Linked DNA regions of Homo sapiens: region 2 is linked to region 1. Evidence: promoter capture Hi-C in 16 types of primary human blood cells and fetal thymus (Javierre and others, 2016). All regions are on one chromosome and are shown on one strand. Each heading gives the region's core, a stretch centred on a gene start or on the middle of the fragment in contact. The rest is flanking DNA. Distances are from core to core; before and after follow the strand shown. Region 1 holds the start of CSGALNACT2 (chondroitin sulfate N-acetylgalactosaminyltransferase 2). Region 2 overlaps RASSF4 (Ras association domain family member 4).

Region 1 (5,867 bases), core at 2,213-4,712:
GGGATTATGGTCTAATCTTTTTGGTGGGGGGAATGTTTGAGATATGGCTTTTAGAAGACTTTGCCCTATGTTTTGAGCCTCTTTGTTAACTCTTCAGTTTTATTGTGGACAGTGGGATCCTAGGATCCCTTTTGGGGGAGTCTAGTCAACTTTTGCCATTCAGGATTTAGCATGCAAGGTTCTGGTCAATGTGTACAAGTTGATATGGGTTAGGTAACACTGGGTCACATGCTTCCCCCCGCCGCTTTGCGATAGGGTCTTGCTCTGCCACCAAGGCTAGAGTGCCCGTGGTGCAATCATGGCTCACTGCAGCCTCAACCTCCTGGGCGCAAGTGATCCTCCCATCTAGCCTCTTGAGTAGCTAGGACTACAGGCACACACCACCATGCCTGGGTTTTTTTTTCCATAGAGATGGAGATCTCACTATGTTGCTCATGCTGGTCTAACTTGTAGGCTCAGGCAGTCCTCACTGATTCACCTTCCAAAATGATGGGATTACAGGTGTGAGCCATAGTGCCTGACCAAAGTATTCTTAATTATTTTATGCATAGTTGCTGATCTTGCCTGGGTTTGGGGAAATCCTTAATTATGGTTATTAATTTAGCTTGGGTCTAAGGTTTAAATTCCACAGTTGTCTGTATATGGGGCTCATGGAGGAATAGGCCTTCAGAGAGGCAGCTGGCATCCTGGGGTCATAGGAGGGTTGTTGTGAAAGGGCAGGGATCTGGACAAGAGGAAGAGAAGTGTGGACAGATGTGTGGAAGGGAAGAGATCAGAAGGATAAGGGGGAGAAGAGGGAGAGCTGTATTAGGGAAGCAAATGGATGATAAGCAGAAGGATTTACTAGGAAAATGAGTCTAGGTTGTTGCTGCTTAAGTTTGCCAAATCGCTCATCAGCTTTAGCCAGAGTCTTTCAGGGAAGCACTTTTTGAATCAGAATATCATTTGGAGACCTCTGACTACCAATCAAAAAAGGCTGCTCATTGGGCCTAAGAAATCTTATTCTCTTTCGTTTCTAAGGCATCTCTCAAATGAGCAATTTTGTTCAAGTTAGATGTTCTCCAAATAAGATCTTCACCAAATCAACCTTGGTGAAGTTAATGCTTTTCAGAGATGGGCGTAAGGATTAGAATTGTTAGAGAGTATATGTAAGAAGCAGGAGTTTTTTCTGGAGGAGGAGATTTAAACTTAGACAACACCATGAATGCTGGCTGGTGAGGCTGGCGAGAAATGGAATGTTTGTGTCTCTCAGGACATGAAAGCGAGACGGAAGGAGAACCTCATTCAGTTTTACTGGAAACCCACAGCAAAGTTTCTCCAAGTAGAGGCCGGTGTGATGAGAACTGCTAAATCATGAGCTGCGAGGCTGGCTCAAACAAGAGGCTTATGAGCCCCATGCCTGTGTCCTTTCCTACGGTTTTCCTTCTTATGACAAGCAGCACTTTTTGACAGCACAACACTAAACACTAACACAAAATACAGTGAAAAGGGATAAAAAGAATGGCCTGATTCCACTAGAGATGCCAGACAAATGAGAATCAATAACAAAACCAGAGTACCAAACTGAGAATAAATAGCCAGAGACCTCCACGCAGAGTGAGGTGAGCCCTAGTGCTGACCACATCGGCGCACCTGATAGGCCGAGAACATGGAGGCATGAGGGGCCTCTGGGTGGCACAATGGGTGGAAGCCTGGGGACCTCAGGGACAAGCAGTACAGACTTACCATGGGATCACCAGGAAAACTGTGGAAACCAGCAAAGGCTATTTATTCACAACTTGCTATAGCAGGGGAATCAGCCAGCATCACTTACTTTTGGTAGAAATTTAAAAGGCCCGAAAGAGATGGGAAACTTTTATTGTTTTGTTTTGTTTAAGTATCAGATTGGAAATTATTGGCAGGAAATGTTTTTAATTACATTTTTCTGATATTAAACCCAACACAGTTGTACTTTAATATTTTCCCTAGGAGAACTACTTATTTTACAACTATATCCCAGTGTATCACCCATGATCAGCCACATAATTTGAATCATGCATTATCTTCTCTCCACATTCAAATTACATACATTTAGTATTTGGCTACTTAAAAAAAAATCATTAAAAAGTAACAATTTAAATCCATTGATGGGAGAACCTCAGTTAGTTTCAAAACAACAATTCTTGCCAGGCGGGGTGACTCACGCCTGTAATGCCAGCACTTTGGGAGGCCGAAGCTGGAAGATCGCTTGAGCCCAGGAGTTCAAGGCCAGCCTAGGCAACAGAGGGAGGCCCCATCTCTACCAAAAAAAATATTAACAATTAGCCGGGCATGGTGGCATGCACCTGTGGTCCCAGCTACTCGGGAGGCTGAGGCGAGAGGATCGCTGGAGTCGGAGGTGGGGAGGCTGCAGTGAACCGTGATCGCTCCACTGCACTCCAGCCTGGGCGACAGAGCGGGACCCTGTCTCAAAAAATAGATGAATAAATAAATAAAAACAATTATAATGGAAGTTTGGATAGGAATTTAAAACATGTGGCAACTAACCCTGACCCTGCGGCTTCAGTCTCCCCGCCGCTAGCTGAGGGCCGTGGCCGCTGCACAGAGGCTTGTGAGGATTCGGGGGTTCAGGCAGCGCCCGCCGCGCATCTGCCAGACGTGCGGCCACAGGGTAGGAGCAGTAAGAAGGATCCAGGGAAAAAAGTCCACGAATGAGAAAGGAAACCCAGCGTTTGTAGGGCTAGGAGAACAAAGAAAGAAAATGCTGGCGGCGGAGGGCGAGGCTCTGCGGTGCGTGGCAGATGGGAATTTGCTCGGTGGCGGCTCCTCTTTCTGGAGAGCTTCCCAGCGTCCCCTCCCCCGCCAGCCCGCGGTGACGCGCCCGGCACCCACCACAGCCGGCTCTCGGCGCCGTCGCGCCTTCGCTCGCCCGCTTAGGCCGTGCTCGCGGTGGCGTGGGAGACAGAGAGCCCAGGGAGGACCCTGGAACATGCAGTGGTATGGAAGACGCCTAAGAAAGGGCTTCTCTTTCCACTCACGAAAATCAGTGTGTGAGCTCGAAGCCATTTCCCAGCGTGTCCGCCTCAACTCCCTCATTCAACAGATGAGGAATTCCTCCAGGGAAATGCAGTGATGCGCTCACGGCTGCCGGCGGCCCAGCGCCAAGGGGCGCTCCACAGCCCCGCGGCCCGAAGCCCTCGACTCGGCTGCCACGCAGGCCCCGCGGCCCCGCTCGGACTCCCAGGATCGGCTTCCGAGCGGGACAGCGCTGCAGTCCACGAGTCCGGGCAGGGGCGCCTCCAGGCCGGAGCGGTTTCCTGCCTCGGGCACTCTGCTGTCTCCACAAACGGTTTTTGGAGGCACACACACGGATACTTTAAACACGTCGGTGATGAATCGGTACCCAGCTGCCAGTGGCGGAGCTTCCTGGGCGGGGCCGCGGGCGCGCGGCGGCTTCATTTCCTCGCGCGCGCCGGAAGTGGCCTCTCAGGCGCGGCGGCGCGCCCGGGGGTGGGTGGCTGAGGCGGCGGCGGGCCCAAGGCGTGAGGCGCCGCCCGGGTGTCCCCGCGGCGCAGGAGGCGGTGGAGCGCAGAGCGGGCGAGCGCGGTGAGTACCTGGCCCGGCCTCGCCCGCCGGTCCGCGACTCCCGCCGGCTCCGGCCCGGGCGGTGCGGGCGCCGGGGCTGCGGGCTCCTGTGTGGTCGGGTGGGGTCGCCTAGCGGACCGGTCCTGCGGGGGGCCCTGTCTCTCAGGGATGAGCCTGCCGGAGTCGGCACCGGTTTTAGGGAAAGCGCGGCCAGAGACGATTGGTTCGCTTGTCAGTGTTGGGTTTTGTTTTGTTTCGTTTTGTTTTTACCTATTCATCACCATCTCTGCTCCTCTCAGTGGATAAACTTTTTAATCAGTGGTGACCTCGTCATCGCGTTAAAATAGTTCTGCCCTCAGCCCCTCTTTATCTGTAGATGGCAGAGCGAGCGCCGGTAAAGATGCTCTGTCGTGGAGGGCTCAGTGGGGCGGAGGAGATGGGGAGCCTCTGGCGTTGTCGGAGAATGCACCTTAAAAATGACTCTACCCTTGAGCAACGCAGGAAGCACGACAGTGATACTTCTGTTTGTGATGATGGTATTGGCGGTATGATAGTTTGATTATACATCTGAAGCTTCTCTTCCTGAGTCCTTGGCTTGTTAAACTTGGAGGTATTTTCTAGCGTGCTTTTGAGATAGATATGGGATGTCGTGACGTTTCACCGTCATTCAAGGCTCGCGGGAGCAGGGCCTTCATGTCTGGTAATTAATGTTGTTTTTTGAATGTTGTATTAAAATAGTAGCTTCGATCTTGGAAGTAAGAAGCCAAGTATTTTAGGACTGAGTGTTAGCGTTCATTTTGTATTATTGTTCTTGTACCATTTGTTTAAAGTTGTCATGTAACTAAAAGAATGAAAAAAGATGGATTTCCAGTATTTGTGGCTCAGAGGATTTTGGCCTAAATAAACACAGTTCCAACCAGTTTAGAAGCTGCATTTTTCTCTTTGTTTTTGTCGAGGCATAAAATACATATGAAATCAATAAGAGCACGAATCTTAATTGTACAGCTCAATGAATTTTTACATACTTATTACCCTGTGGAACCACCAGATATATCAAATTATAACCATAGAACATTTCCATCATCCTATTTTCCTGTGCTTCTTCCAAGTCAGTTATATCCTTGTTTTCCCATCTGTATTCTAACTTCTCTTATCTGCTTTTAGTTTTCTCTGTTTTGAGCTTCATGTTAATGGAATCACGTAGTATTCTCAGCATATTGTTTGTGGGACACACCCATGCTATTTCATGGTATTGTATTATTACTGTGTAATAGTCTATTGAATAATATGTGACTACTCTTCAGTTGATGGACATTTATGTTCCCAATTTTTGTATATGATGTGTTTTGGATATTAAGAATACTGTGGGCCTGGCGTGGTGGCTCAGGCCTTTTATCCCAGCGCTTGGGGAGGCCGAGGCAGGTGGATCACTTGGTCAGGAGTTCGAGACCAGCCTGGCAAACATGGTGAAACCGCATCTCTACTAAAAATACAAAAATTAGCCAGGCGTGGTGGCGGGCGCCTGTAAGCCCAGCTACTTGGGAGGCTGAGGCGGGAGGTGGAGGTTGCAGTGAGCCGAGATCGTGCCACTGCACTCCAGCCTGGACGACAGAGCCTGACTCGGTCTCAAAAAGAAAAGAAAAAAAAAAGAGTACTGTGGACATTCTTGTAAATTAAATGTCTTGGTGAGCATCTGTATGCATTTCTGTCAGCTATAGAATGACTGAGTCATGGCATAAGCAGAAAATTACCAACATGGAGTCATTACCAACCATACCATTACCAACCAAAGGCAGAAAATTTAACCAACATGGAGTCATCTTTTTTTTAATGTAATAGAATTTGTTATTTTAACTAATATAACATTCAAGGTTGGTTTTAAAAAAGCATAACTATTATGAGTTCAAGACGTAAGTGATTCATTCATTACCATGTTATTATTTACCCTTTGAATTGCACATTTATGACTGTCTTCTGTCGGACTGTCATTGTTTGTTTAACTGTTAGACAAGTCTGTTAGAGCTGGTGAGGATCTGACTCTGAAGTTTAGCATAACATTTACTTAAGAACTGTATTACTCAAGTTAGTGGTTTTTTAGAGGAAATGAAATACCAAAAGGATATGACTGAAAGTGGATTGAAGAATCACGGGACTGCAAGTCAAAGAACTTACATTGTTATTGTCATGCTACACAAGCACTAGGTATAAGTGTAAAATTGAATTATAGGGCTAGTTACAAATGTGAATTCACAGCAGGAGTACAGTGATTTTCATATGGACTGAGATACTACTAGCACATTTAT
Region 2 (5,162 bases), core at 1,186-3,685, 1.9 Mb after region 1:
CTACTCAGCCAGACAACATGGGGTCTCAGCCTGTCACCCAGTGAGGGCAGCTTTTCCTCCTAGTGACAGATTTGCCCTTGCAATGTGAATCCATTCTTCCAGAAAAAAGTACTGCTTTCAAGGACACAGAATAGTGTCTTAAGCATTTGGGACAGTAGCTCCCCCACCTCCTGGGTAAGGGAAGTCCCAAAGAAAAGCACTATGCAAAAAGCCCTTTCTTACCACGCTCAACATCCATACAGAACTAATGTCCTTAGAAATGAGGGGACAGATTCCTTGAGTCAGAGGCAACAATTGAAAAAATAAATAATTCCTAGCATTGAATTTCTGAGATAGTTCCAGGTTTTGTTTCTTAGAACTGTGCACCATTACTTCACTCAGTCATTTTCCAAAACTGTTCTGATTCCCAGAAATGTTGGTTTTATTTCCAGACAGGGTGAAACTTTGTAGCTGTTTCTACTGCCTGACCTATTGGATTCAAATGCGTTCTGTTAGAGAGAAACCATTTGTGGTTAGAGATAAGAAAGTAGCCAGGGGGCCTTTGTTCCTACTTGGAGTTGGTTGGTATCATCTTGAGAAAAGGCTTCGTGCAGAAGAAACACAGTGTCTTGTTAACAAGACTTTTTGTCCCTTTGAAATAGCCTAACTCCTCTGTTTCATGTTTCTTTTTTTATTTGAGATGGAGTCTCACTCTGTAGCCAGGCTGGAGTGCAGTGGCACGATCTGGGCTCACTGCAACCTCCACCTCCTAGGTTCAAGCGATTCTTCTGCTTCCTGAGTAGCTGGGACTACAGGTGCGCACCACGATGCCTGGCTAATTTTTGTATTTTTTGTAGAGACAGGGTTTCACCATATTGGCCAGACTGGTCTTGAACTCCTGACCTCGTGATCCGCCCGCCTTTGCCTACCAAAGTGCTGGGATTACAGGCGTAAGCCACTGCACCTGGCCCTCTCTTCCATATTTCTTTGGACAAGAAAGCCTAATCCTAATCCTGGCTTTCTGTATAACTCAGTCATTCTGCACCTCAACTAGAATCGAGCTGGGGGAAGCAGGTCGAGGTTGAGTCTGACTCTGGCACAGCGTGCTTCATTTTATTGTGCTTCTTGTTACTGTACCTTGCAGATTTTTGCAAATGGAAGGTTGCTGTTCAGCAACCTTCCATTTGCAAAAATGTGCACTTTTTTTTTTTTTTTTGCTGCACCTGCGGTTTCTGCAAATTGAAGGTGTGTGGCAACCTTGTGTTGAACAAGTCTATCGGTGCCGTTTTCCAACACTATGTGCTCACTTTGTGTCTCTGTGTCAGATTTTTTAGCAATAAAGTAGTTTTAATTAAGGCATGCATATTTTTTAGATGTAGTACTGTCTCACCCTTAAGAAACTACAGTATAGTATAAACATATCTTGTATATGCCCTGGGAAACCAAAACATTTGTGTGACTCACTTTATTGAGATATTCGCTTCATTGTGATGGTCTGGACCTGAACTCACAATGGCTCCCAGGTGTGCCTGGACTTATCAGAGCGGGGATACTGAATAGGTCCTTGAGCTCTCTGAGCCTTAGCTACCTCCTTGGGAAAACAGAGCTAGGATCTCAGAGGAGGAATATGCGAATCTAAACTTGAGTTTGAAAAGCAAGGAGAGGTTCACCTGCAGAGGAGTCACATTCGCTGGGAGGCACCAGCACCAGGGGGGTAACATGTAGGTTTTCAGGAATCATGGAATCCTTTGAGTCAGGGCTCTGTCTTTTCTAGGTGGGTAACTCTGAACAAGCTGGTTAACCTCCTAAAGCCTCTGATTCCTTTCTAAGAAAAGGGGACTAGTTATAGCTGCCTCAAAGGGTTGTTATGAATATTAAATCAATGATTGTATGTAAAATCTTAGCGGGTTCAATACACAGCTAGGGTTTATTGAGGACGGACCTATTATGTGTCAGGCAGAGTCCTGGTTGATTTCATATATGGTGTCTCTTAGGCAAAGGCAAGATACCTGCAAAAATATAATGTGTCCCCCCACCCCCCAGCCAAATTGTGAAGAAGCTCTGTGACTGGAGCACATGGTGCTTGTTAGGCAACCATAGTGTCATACGTGCGAGACAATGAGAAGAACTACAGATGTTATTGCACAGTCCCCAGGAAGCCTTCAGATACTTTTAGACCCGCGCTTTCAAACAGTGCTTCTCACATTGAACTGCACAGATCGCTTCGCCTTGTGTTCTACAGACGCAGACTCTGATTCAGATGGTATGGAGCAGGGTAGGGAAGGGAGCCGAGACTGTATGGATGCAGCTGGGCTAGACGTCACTTGGAGGTGCAAGGGTTTTAGAAGTCCGTTCCTGTAGGCAGCGGTGCAGACTACGGATTAGAGGGACTGAGACCAGAAGGGAACAAGCTGGGAAGCTGATATGGTGTGATCAGTGCCTCTACTAGGCACTGCTGGGAGAATGAAGAGGAGGAGACAGATTGGGTAACTTTCAGCCTTAGAATCAACAGACAACTGGTGACTTAATCAATAGAAAGAGTGATGGAGAGACTGATTCCCCCACCCTTGTGAATGACTTCCATGGCCCTGGTTCCTCGGGTCCAGAGAGCTGGCCCTTCTGGGTGTGTAGACATCTTCCTTAGGCCTCTGGAAGGAGTGCACTACTACAGCTTCCCGGAGTGTCTCCCAGGTCTGGGAACAGCTTATGTGTGCATCAGCGTGAATGGACAGGTGCAGGTGTTCCCAGATCTCAGCGTCACCTGCTGCCTTGGTCTGTTCACCGTTGTGATGTCAGTCCCTTGTCCCCTCTGGGCCTGACCTGAACTTCTCTCCCTTCCTGGTACAGACCTCCGTGTTTACTCCAGCCTATGGATCCGTGACCAATGTGAGGGTCAACAGCACCATGACAACCCTGCAGGTGCTCACCCTGCTGCTGAACAAATTTAGGGTAAGCCTGGTCAGGAGCAGCCTTGCCCCAGGATGCCAGTGGTCTGCTATTCTGTTGGGGGTGGGGTTCTGGGGAAAGCTGCCCGTGGCAGAAGCTGCCTGGGCAGAAGGTCTAGCAAGGGTCCCTCTGCTGAGCTTTGGTTTCTCGGATTTCAAGCAAGAGGAGGTTGGGAGAGGACAGGTTCCTTGCAACTTGCGTGTGTGTTACTGGGGGTGTAGTTACTGTCAGGGGACCCTCTCAGTTCTCTCCCATCTCCAAGCACCGTGATCTGACTTCCTGTGACTGCCTGTGCAGGTGGAAGATGGCCCCAGTGAGTTCGCACTCTACATCGTTCACGAGTCTGGGGGTAAGTACCTGCCCCACTTCTGGATCGTAAAAGCAAAAGGTCTCTACCTGTTCAGCAAGCCCCCTCCCCACCAACCACTGACTGTACTCCCTTCCAGATGGGCTCCGTGCTGGCTTGCCTAGTGGGCTAGGGCACACTGTGCCTCCCAGCATGAACATTTCTCCCCCACCCAAACCCAGGCACACTATGGAAGCCTTGAGGAAAAGAAAACATACTTTTGGCTTCGAATTTAAAGCACATTAAAATGTCCTTGGATTTTCTAGGTCGCTCAGTACATTAAGTTTAATTCTTTCAGGATTCTGAAGGAGAATCCCACCAAGCTATAGGAAGCCTCCCTCTCCGCCTCTTCCAGAGAAATGGATGGGTGGGTACCTAGCTCCTTGGCGCCGAGTCAGGAAGGGTGGGGTGCGTGTCGCAGTGCATCAGGCCCTGGCCCTCCCGTCTCAGCTTTCCTTTCTCCCACCCCTCAGATCTTGTTTCTCTTCAAGCTGCACCTTTGCTGAATGACACTGTAGGGGAGGAAAATTATCTTCTCTTTCTACCCATTTAGGTTCACTGGCTGGGGCCCTGTATTTAGATTAACAAAAGACAGATTAAGGAGAAGAACAAACAGAAGTTTGTTAACACTTGCATCATGCATGCCCTTTGGAATATCCAGGGATGAATGGTCAGAATTTGGGCTTAAATAGCATATTCACAAAAGAGCAGTAAGTTTTTAGAGAAGTGACAAGACAGAGGAGAAGGGCCTGAGTTTCTGGGGAGGCGAAGGGTGGGAAGGTCACCGCACGGGGAGCTGCGGGAAGGGAAGGGCTTCAGCGGGACGTGCTGTGCAGGTTCCTCTGGTGCCCTCTCCAGGCTGAGGAGGGGCTCGGGTTGTCTCTGGTGATTAACTCCATCATTGCCTAGAGAGGGACGGGGGCACACCTTGACAAATTTATGTCCTGCTTTTTGGCAAATAGGGGAGGGCAAAGAGCCTCACTTGTATCTTCTTCTTCTCAATTGCCAGCCGCTCCACTTAATCCTTATGCCAAAGTGGCAGATCTGGGGGCCCTGTTCTGCCTCCCTTCTGCATGAGCAGGAATCTCTCAGGGCAGCGCTGTTAGCGAGGTCTGTGTTCTTAGGGTTCCCTGCGCCCCTAGACGCACATTTTCTATCAGTTCCTAATCTGGAACAGACAGAGGTGATCCTAATCTCCCGTGATTTTTGTAAACCACCTTCTTTTTCAGAGCGGACAAAATTAAAAGACTGCGAGTACCCGCTGATTTCCAGAATCCTGCATGGGCCATGTGAGAAGATCGCCAGGATCTTCCTGATGGAAGCTGACTTGGGCGTGGAAGTCCCCCATGAAGTGAGTGGGGGCCAAGGCTGGGGAGGCCTGCTCTAGGGTGAGGGGTTCTTGGGTGACGGGGCCTCCCAAGGACTCCTGGCCAGAGCCCTGTCAGTTGATGTCTCCAGGAGCTCCACACTCTCCCAAAGGGCTCCCAGCCTAGCACAGGGAGGCGCCAGCCCTCCCTCTCCCATCAGTGACCGCCAGCACCAGCAGCTTAGGGGAAAGAAGAATTTGGGTCCTATAAAACCATGGCCTGTCCTTTTCCTCTAGGGAAGTAAAGTCTTTTCCTTCATTGGAATGTATTTTGTTGTCATTATGTGAGAGACCTATGCAAAGGCTTTTTAACTAGGCCCTACCTCGCACCTGTGGAAAACAGGGAGATATTTAAGTCTTACCAACAGCCTGAGTTCTGACCAGACAGTGAGTGCATTTCCAAACTCCTCTGCATAGAAGATGCTTACAGGGTTTGAACCTCAAGTAGGAGGCCTAGTGACCCCGTATCCCTCAGGCTGCTGCAATTGCATTCCATTGTTAGAAACAATGGTGCTCCCACCTCCC

Evidence for each region. The method cuts DNA at HindIII sites, captures the fragments that hold promoters and counts their contacts. A CHiCAGO score of 5 or more calls a contact.
Region 2: a fragment that was not itself captured here is called in contact with the fragment with the promoter of CSGALNACT2 in region 1 in 1 of 17 cell types (M0 macrophages); the score reaches 5.3 in M0 macrophages.

The regions. Positions count from the first base shown.
Region 1 is chr10:43,134,983-43,140,849 of GRCh38, forward strand. It overlaps CSGALNACT2 (chondroitin sulfate N-acetylgalactosaminyltransferase 2), which reads left to right and starts at 3,463. Exons shown (of 8, transcript NM_018590.5): 1 at 3,463-3,585. It overlaps CSGALNACT2-DT (CSGALNACT2 divergent transcript), which reads right to left and starts at 3,411. Exons shown (of 1, transcript NR_186456.1): 1 at 1,842-3,411. RefSeq lists silencers at 2,760-2,959, 3,090-3,149, 3,320-3,819, 3,930-3,999. The HindIII fragment of the contact is 5,511 bases long and covers 1-4,135 here.
Region 2 is chr10:44,986,448-44,991,609 of GRCh38, forward strand. RASSF4 (Ras association domain family member 4) reads left to right here. Exons shown (of 11, transcript NM_032023.4): 7 at 2,827-2,928; 8 at 3,223-3,274; 9 at 4,501-4,622. Among named protein-coding and RNA genes, the nearest start is that of DEPP1, 10 kb to the left of the region's middle. RefSeq lists an enhancer at 4,555-5,162. The HindIII fragment of the contact is 6,881 bases long and covers 1-5,162 here.